2 separate regions of the Homo sapiens genome follow, and region 2 is linked to region 1. The links are contacts of gene promoters, found by promoter capture Hi-C in human tissues and cell types (Jung and others, 2019). All regions are on one chromosome and are shown on one strand. The core of a region is centred on a gene start or on the middle of the fragment in contact, and the rest is flanking DNA. Distances in the headings are between cores, read along the strand shown. Region 1 holds the start of SGPL1 (sphingosine-1-phosphate lyase 1). Region 2 overlaps NPFFR1 (neuropeptide FF receptor 1).

Region 1 (3,201 bases), core at 248-2,747:
TTAGGGTGTAGGGAGGAATCAGACGTGACCCTGCCCTCTAGTCATCTGGGTGCACAGATTCTAGATTAAAGGATGTGGGGGTGGTAACTAACAAGGAGATGGAGAGGAGGTGTGCAGTTCCTGGGGGATCTGATGAAGAATTAAAGCAGAAGGGTAGGAGATGGAGAATGGGAAGGCATACCTGAAACCCTAAAGCAACTCTTGATGAGTAGGCATTGGCAGGAGGCCCCAGAACATTTTCTGACCCTCAAACACTGAGAATGCATGTCTGCTGGGGAATAGTAGTGAGGGGGCTAAGGGTATGGGGGTGTTCATGCCTGAGTCAGGGGCTCTGGATGGTAGAAATGTCTGGGAGTTCTGACGGAATGGGGGTGAGGAGGCCTAAAGATAACCTGTTCATAGTCTTTCAGGGCCTTAACCATTATGGCTGGGGAAGTGGGAAGTGCCGATGGGGTATGCAGAGGAGGGCAGCTGTGATAGTACATTTCATCCTGAAAGCACTACATGTGGATAATGACGGTAGTGATGATGCCCTAATTTTAGTGTCATGGCAACATTTTCCAAGGGGATGGAATTGGGTACCCTCATTAGTGTCATTTTTGTTTGAGAGATTTCAAGAGTCTATCTAGGTGTCATTTTAAAATCTATTGAAAAAAAATCTTGAATGCAGGTCACTGACCAGTTGGTTCCATGTAACTGCACTGCCTTCTGCTACCACTAAAGCAATGTTATGACAACCTGGACAAGTCATGGGAAACCTATGTGAGACTTAGTTTTTTCTTTTTCTTTTTGGAGTTGGGGGTCTCACTATGTTGCTCAGGCTGATCTAGAGCTCCTGGGCTCAGACAACCCTCCCGCCTCAGCATCCCCAAGTGCCGGGATTACCGATGTAAGCCACTACACCCAGCTGAGACTTAGTTTTTTCATCTGGAAATGAAGGCGACCTTTGTGATCCCAGTGGGCCCTTGCACTTGTGTATAAGGTGATTCCCAGCACTGCTCATGAAAGTAGTGATGGCAGAGTAGCCTCTGCTCTCCATTTTATTTTTGGGGTGGGGGGGGGCAGTGGTGGAGGGGAGGATGAGGATGATATTTCCATTAAATAAGTTTCCTTGTTGCTTTTCTTCAGGCACCACTGACCTCGATGGAAAAATGAAGTCCCTGGCCCAGGAAAGAGACCCAACTCTGTGGCTGTTTTGGATTAGTTTGTACAATGCCCTGCAGACCTACTCTCTCAGGAGGCTCCAAGTGACCAAATGTGACAAGAAAGTTTTTTGTCCAAGGCAGTTTGGAAGAGAAGTTGGTGACCGTCGGGATACCACAGCCGCCCCAGGACGGCCTGGTTGAGACATTCACTGGAGGGTCTGGGTGCAGCCCGCTGCCTGGCCGGTAGGCGGCGCGCACAGGCCGTGGGGCCCGGGTCTGGGCGTGCGCGCGGCTGGTAGCAGCGGGGCCGCGCACGCCAGGGTCCGGGAGCCGGGCCGGTGCCCCCGGAGCCATTTCCGGGAGGGGCGAGGCCGGCGGCTGCCGGGCCTCCAATCTCGGCGGCGGCGGCGGCAACAGGGGAGCCTGGGTCTCGCGGCCTGCGAGTCCGTCGCGTGCTGAGGGAGACGCAGGAGGTGGAGCCGGCCGGGTGCTCGAGGGAAGGAGACTGGAAGCTGGTTCCGGCGTGAGGAGGTGGAGGGGCCGCCGCGGGCTCCGGGGGGCGGTGAGGGTCGGGACGGAGGCGCCGCGGGGTGAGGAGAGGACAGGGGCCGGGTGGGCCGAGGGCGGGCAGAGGCGGCGGGGCGGCTGCGGCCGGGGCGGGGGCGGGGGCGGGCTGAAGGCGTGGGCACCAGCCGCTGAGGTCCAAGCAAGTGGACGGCGGGCGGGCGCGGGGCCGCGGTGGGGCGGGTCTGGAGCCCACGCCTGCCGCGGGGTAGGCATGGGCGGCCAGGATTTGCTGGTCCTCCGACGGGAGGGGTGACAACGAGAGCGAGGCCGTGCTGATTCTGAAGGGAGTGCGGAGGAGGCAGGACCCTGGTAGCCTCGGCACCTTCAGCCCGGGTTAGGTGGCCTGGGCTGGGCTCCCCACCCCGATCGCGCGCAGACGGGGCGTTTCCCCTAGTTTCCACCTGGGTGGAATGCTTTGTGGGAGTCTGGGTCTGGATTAGTTTCATCAGCTGTGGGAGGGAAACCTAGTTGCAGCAGGATTTTGATTCGCTGGTCTGGGGTGCTAGGGGTGGACTGTGATATCTGGGAATGAAATCTGAGCCTTCAAAGGAGGGAGAGAACCATAACTTGGCTGCTCTGGCGAATCTAGGCGGGCTGGCGAGACAGTTTAAAGCTCTAGAAGTAAACAAACCTGGTTCCCTTTTACAGAGTCTGAAAAAGGGGAGCGCGGAGAGGAGGCTGGAAGAGGAAGATGCCTAGCACAGACCTTCTGATGTTGGTGAGCCTTTTGCAGACATCCTCCTGGTTCCAAGGCATTTGTCTCCGTTTTTTTAGTCCAAAGGATCCCAGTGTGTAGATTTCACCTCTGATGCTTGCTTTTGGTAGCTGAGCGTTTTGCCACCTTTTATTTTGTTTTGTTTTGTTTTGTTTTTTTGGAGACGGAGTCTCACTCTGTTGCCCAGACTGGGGTGCAGTGGCATGATCTCGGCTCACCGCCACCTCTGCCTCCTGGGTTCAAGCGATTCTCCTGCCTCAGCCTCCTGAGTAGCTGGGATTACAGGCGCACGCCACCACGCCCGGCTAATTTTTGTATTTTTAGTAGAGACGGGGTTCTCCATGTTGGCCAGGCTGGCCTTGAACTCCTGACCTGTGGTGATCCACCCGCCTTGGCCTCCCGAAGTGCTGGGATTCCAGGCGTGAGCCACCGCGCCTGGCCAACCACCTTTTATTTTGGATGAATGATCAGGATGAATAAATAGCTGAATTAAATACATCAATACAGTATATGTAGAACTTAAATTATTGAAGAATCTTTTTCAAAATTATTATTATTTTTTTTAAATGAGACAAGGTCTTGCTATGTTCCTCAGACCGGAGTGCAGTGGCTATTTACAGGCATAATCATAGCTCACTGTAGCCTGGAACTCCCACTTCAAGTGATCCTCTTGCTTCAGCCTCTGGAGTAGCTAGGACTAGGAGCACAGGTCACCTCTCCTGGCTTTCTTTTTCATAATTCTTGCAGTTTTAATCCCTCCCTTCCCGTACTACC
Region 2 (3,513 bases), core at 503-3,002, 570 kb before region 1:
AGAGGTCCAATGTTCCCAGACTCAACAGACACTAAGTATGTTGAGTTCATGTTAACATGCTAGAATTAAGTTTCACCTAAACTGTCACAAATATTTATAAATGTGGAGTTAACAAAACAGGTAATTTGGTGTTGTGTTAAGAACACTGGTCTGCCATCCACAAAGCCTAAAATGTTGTTTTGCTGTCAACACTTAGGAGCTATGGGGCCCTCAGTAATATGCCTTCGCCTCCATGCAACTTAATTACCCATCCGCAAAATGGAAATACTGCAGTTATGTTAGTGGTCACATAGCCTACTCTCTACCTTTTTGGAAAGGATCGCTATTTTGCCTGAAAACTTCATTCACAGTGAGGAAGCAAAAGGGAACAACTACTAATGCAATGGAGCGTAAAAAGTAAACAACTCTTTCATAATGAGTTTATTTTCCATAATTTATAGCATAGGTAACAGAATCATTTTGCAAAGACACGGACTAGAGAAGAATAAAAGAGGCAATTATGATCATTAGAGGTGGCTTCGGAGGACCACGAGACAGCACTATGGACAAACAAAATGCACTACACAACATACTCCTCCTGGGGGGCAGTCAAAACACAGAAATGTAGATCGCTCAGTCACTGAAACGGATTGACTTGGCTGTTCTAACTTCCACACCGAAAGGAAGACAGGGTGGTGATGGGGGGAGAGTGATTACTCCTCAAACAGAGAGTGATTTAACACCACCACTGGCTATGTGACAGATAAACTAATTTGCCCAAATCACTAAGCTTGGGTTTTTCCACCCACATTAATTTGGTTGCTTGCACATGACAACAGCATCATTTATTGGTGACAGGATTCAAAGACCTGGGCATTGCAGCTAGCAGGAGAACACAAACAACTCAAGGCAGGACGCTACAGCCAGTTCAGCAGCTTTTGCTCCTTCAGTGACCACAGTGCAGGGGAGCCCGTGGCTGCTTTGAGGGCTTGATGTGGTATTGAGTCAAACTAAATTTAAACCTTTTACCTAAACTGCTGGTATTCCTTCTATCCCAAATCTTTGGAAGCCATTGAAAGTGATGCAAATGTGTCTCATGGCCAAAACAGCAGCCTGGAGCCTGTGGCTGGCTGGTTTTATTTTTAGGATTATGGGAGACCTCCATCAAGGCTCTTTCTTTTACTCTGAACCTCAGTTTCCCAGATGTAGGAAGGAGAGACCACAGCAGCTTGGGGAATGGCAAAAACCTGGACTTTGTGGTCAGATAGACTAAGGTTTGAGTCTCACCTTCAGGACCTCCTGGTTATATAACCTCCAGTAAGTTACTTTACTTCTCTGAGCCTTGCTTTTCCAATCTATTGTATGGGAATAATAATAAATACCTGCTTAGTTAATTACTTCATTCATTCAACAGACATTTATTGAGTGCCTCCTATGCACCAGGCAATATCCTACCTGAATCCACAAAGGTAAGTGAAATAGACATAGTTCCTGTCCTCATGGAGCTTATGGTCCACTGTGAGAAATAAATAACAGACACAAAGTACGTAGTACTATGCCTGGCGTTTTTTTTTTGTTTTTTGTTTTTTTTTTTTTTTTTTGAGATGGAGTCTCACTCTGTTGCCCAGGATAGAGTACAGTGGCGCTATCTTGGCTTACTGCAAACTCCGCCTCCCAGGTTCAAGCAATTCCCCTCCCTCAGCCTCCCAAGTAGCTGGGATTACAGGTGCCTGCCATCATGCTTGGCTAATTTTTGTATTTTTAATAGAGATGGGGTTTCACCATGTTAGCCAGGCTGGTCTCGAACTCCTGACCTCAAGTGATCGACCCACCTCGGCCTCCCAAAGTGCTGGGATTACAGGCATGAGCCCCCATGCCTGGCCTATGCCTGGCTTTTAATAGACACTGAATACATGTTTTGAGTTAACCAGAAATTTAATTATTGAAATTCAATAGCATTTTGATATCTACTAATTCCTTTTTCAGTTATCCCACTCCTCCCTTAGAACCTGTGTACATGATGCTCTCTCTGTCTGGGTTTGTTTCTTCCCCAGCTAGTCACATGGCTCCCTCTCTCACTTCATATCTGTACTCAAACATCACCTCTTCACAGAGGCCATTCCTAACCATCTGTTCAAATAGCCCTCCTACTTCTATCACACTATATCCTCTTACCTTGCTTTAGACCCATTCTTAATGGATTTAAAAATCATTGGTGGAGCATGGTGGCTCGCGCCTGTAATCCCAGCACTTTGGGAGGCCGAGGCGGGCAGATCATCTGAGGTCAGGAGTTCAAGACCAGCCTGGCCAACATGGTAAAATCCCATCTCTATTAAAAATACAAAAATTAGCTGGGTGTGGTGGCAGATGCCTGTAATCCCAGCTACTCAGGAGGCTGAGGCAGGAGAATCGCTTGAACCTAGGAGGCAAAGGTTGCAGTGAGCCAAAATCACGTCATTGCACTCCAGCCTGGGCAACAAAAGCAAGACTCTGTCTCAAAAAAAAAAAAATTATATTCACAAAAAAATCCCTTAGAGTTAGGGCAAGTTTTTGTGCTAAAGTCTCTACAATAAAATATTATTATTATTATTATTATTTGAGATGGAATCTCACTCTGTCACCTAGGCTGGAGTGCAGTGGCGCCATCTTGGCTCACTGAAACCTCTGCCTCCCAGGTTCAAGTGATTCTCCTGCCTCAGTCTCCCAAGTAGCTGGGATTACAGGCGCACATCACCACACCTGGCTAATTTTTGTGTTTTTGGTAGAGATGGGGTTTCATCACGTTGACCAGGCTGGTCTCGAACTCCTGACCTCAGGTGATCTGCCCACCTTGGCCTCCCAAAGTGCTGGGATTACAGGTGTGAGCCACCGCACCCAGCCAAAATCATGTTTTTAAAAGAAAGATTTGAAGATACTTTACAATAAAAGATATAAGAATGCAGTAAGCACACAAAAAGATGCCCAGCATCACTAGTCATCAGGGAAATTTTCTTTTCTTCTTTCTTTCTTTCTTTTTTTTTTTTTTTTTGAGACAGTCTTGCTCTGTCACCCAGGTTGGAGTGCAGTGGCGCAATTTTGGCTCACTGCATCCTCTGCCTCCTAGGTTCAAGTGATTCTCGTGTCTCAGCCTCCCAAGTAGCTGGGACTACAGGTGTGTGCCACCATGCCTGGCTAATTTTTGTGTTTTTAGTAGAGATGGGGTTTCCCCATATTGGCCAGGCTGGTCTTGAACTCCTGACCTCAGGTGATCTACGCACCTCAGCCTCCCAAAGTGCTGGGATTACAGACGTGAGCCACCACACCTGGCCTGGAAATTTTCAAAAGGCTAATACTGCTAAGTGTTGGCCAGGATGTAGAACAACTGGAACATTCATACACTGCTGATGGGAGTACAAAATGGTAGAGCGACTTTGGAAAGCACTTTGGCAGTTTCTTATACAGTTAAATTTTACACAGACCATGCAACCTACCAATCTCGATCCTAGGTATCTACCCAAGAAAAATGGAAAACATACATACACATACATATAAGGA

What was found. Contacts are between HindIII fragments. The study calls those that stand out against the background at their distance.
Region 2: a contact is called between a fragment that was not itself captured here and the fragment with the promoter of SGPL1 in region 1, in 1 of the 25 tissues and cell types used here (spleen).

Annotation. Positions count from the first base shown.
Region 1 is chr10:70,814,451-70,817,651 of GRCh38, forward strand. SGPL1 (sphingosine-1-phosphate lyase 1) reads left to right here and starts at 1,498. Exons shown (of 15, transcript NM_003901.4): 1 at 1,498-1,676; 2 at 2,361-2,430. The coding sequence starts at 2,404. RefSeq lists silencers at 1,294-1,613, 1,634-1,723, 1,804-1,913. The HindIII fragment of the contact is 13,423 bases long and covers 1-3,201 here.
Region 2 is chr10:70,246,924-70,250,436 of GRCh38, forward strand. NPFFR1 (neuropeptide FF receptor 1) reads right to left here. Exons shown (of 4, transcript NM_022146.5): 4 at 406-3,513. Among named protein-coding and RNA genes, the nearest start is that of PPA1, 15 kb to the left of the region's middle. The HindIII fragment of the contact is 9,104 bases long and covers 1-3,513 here.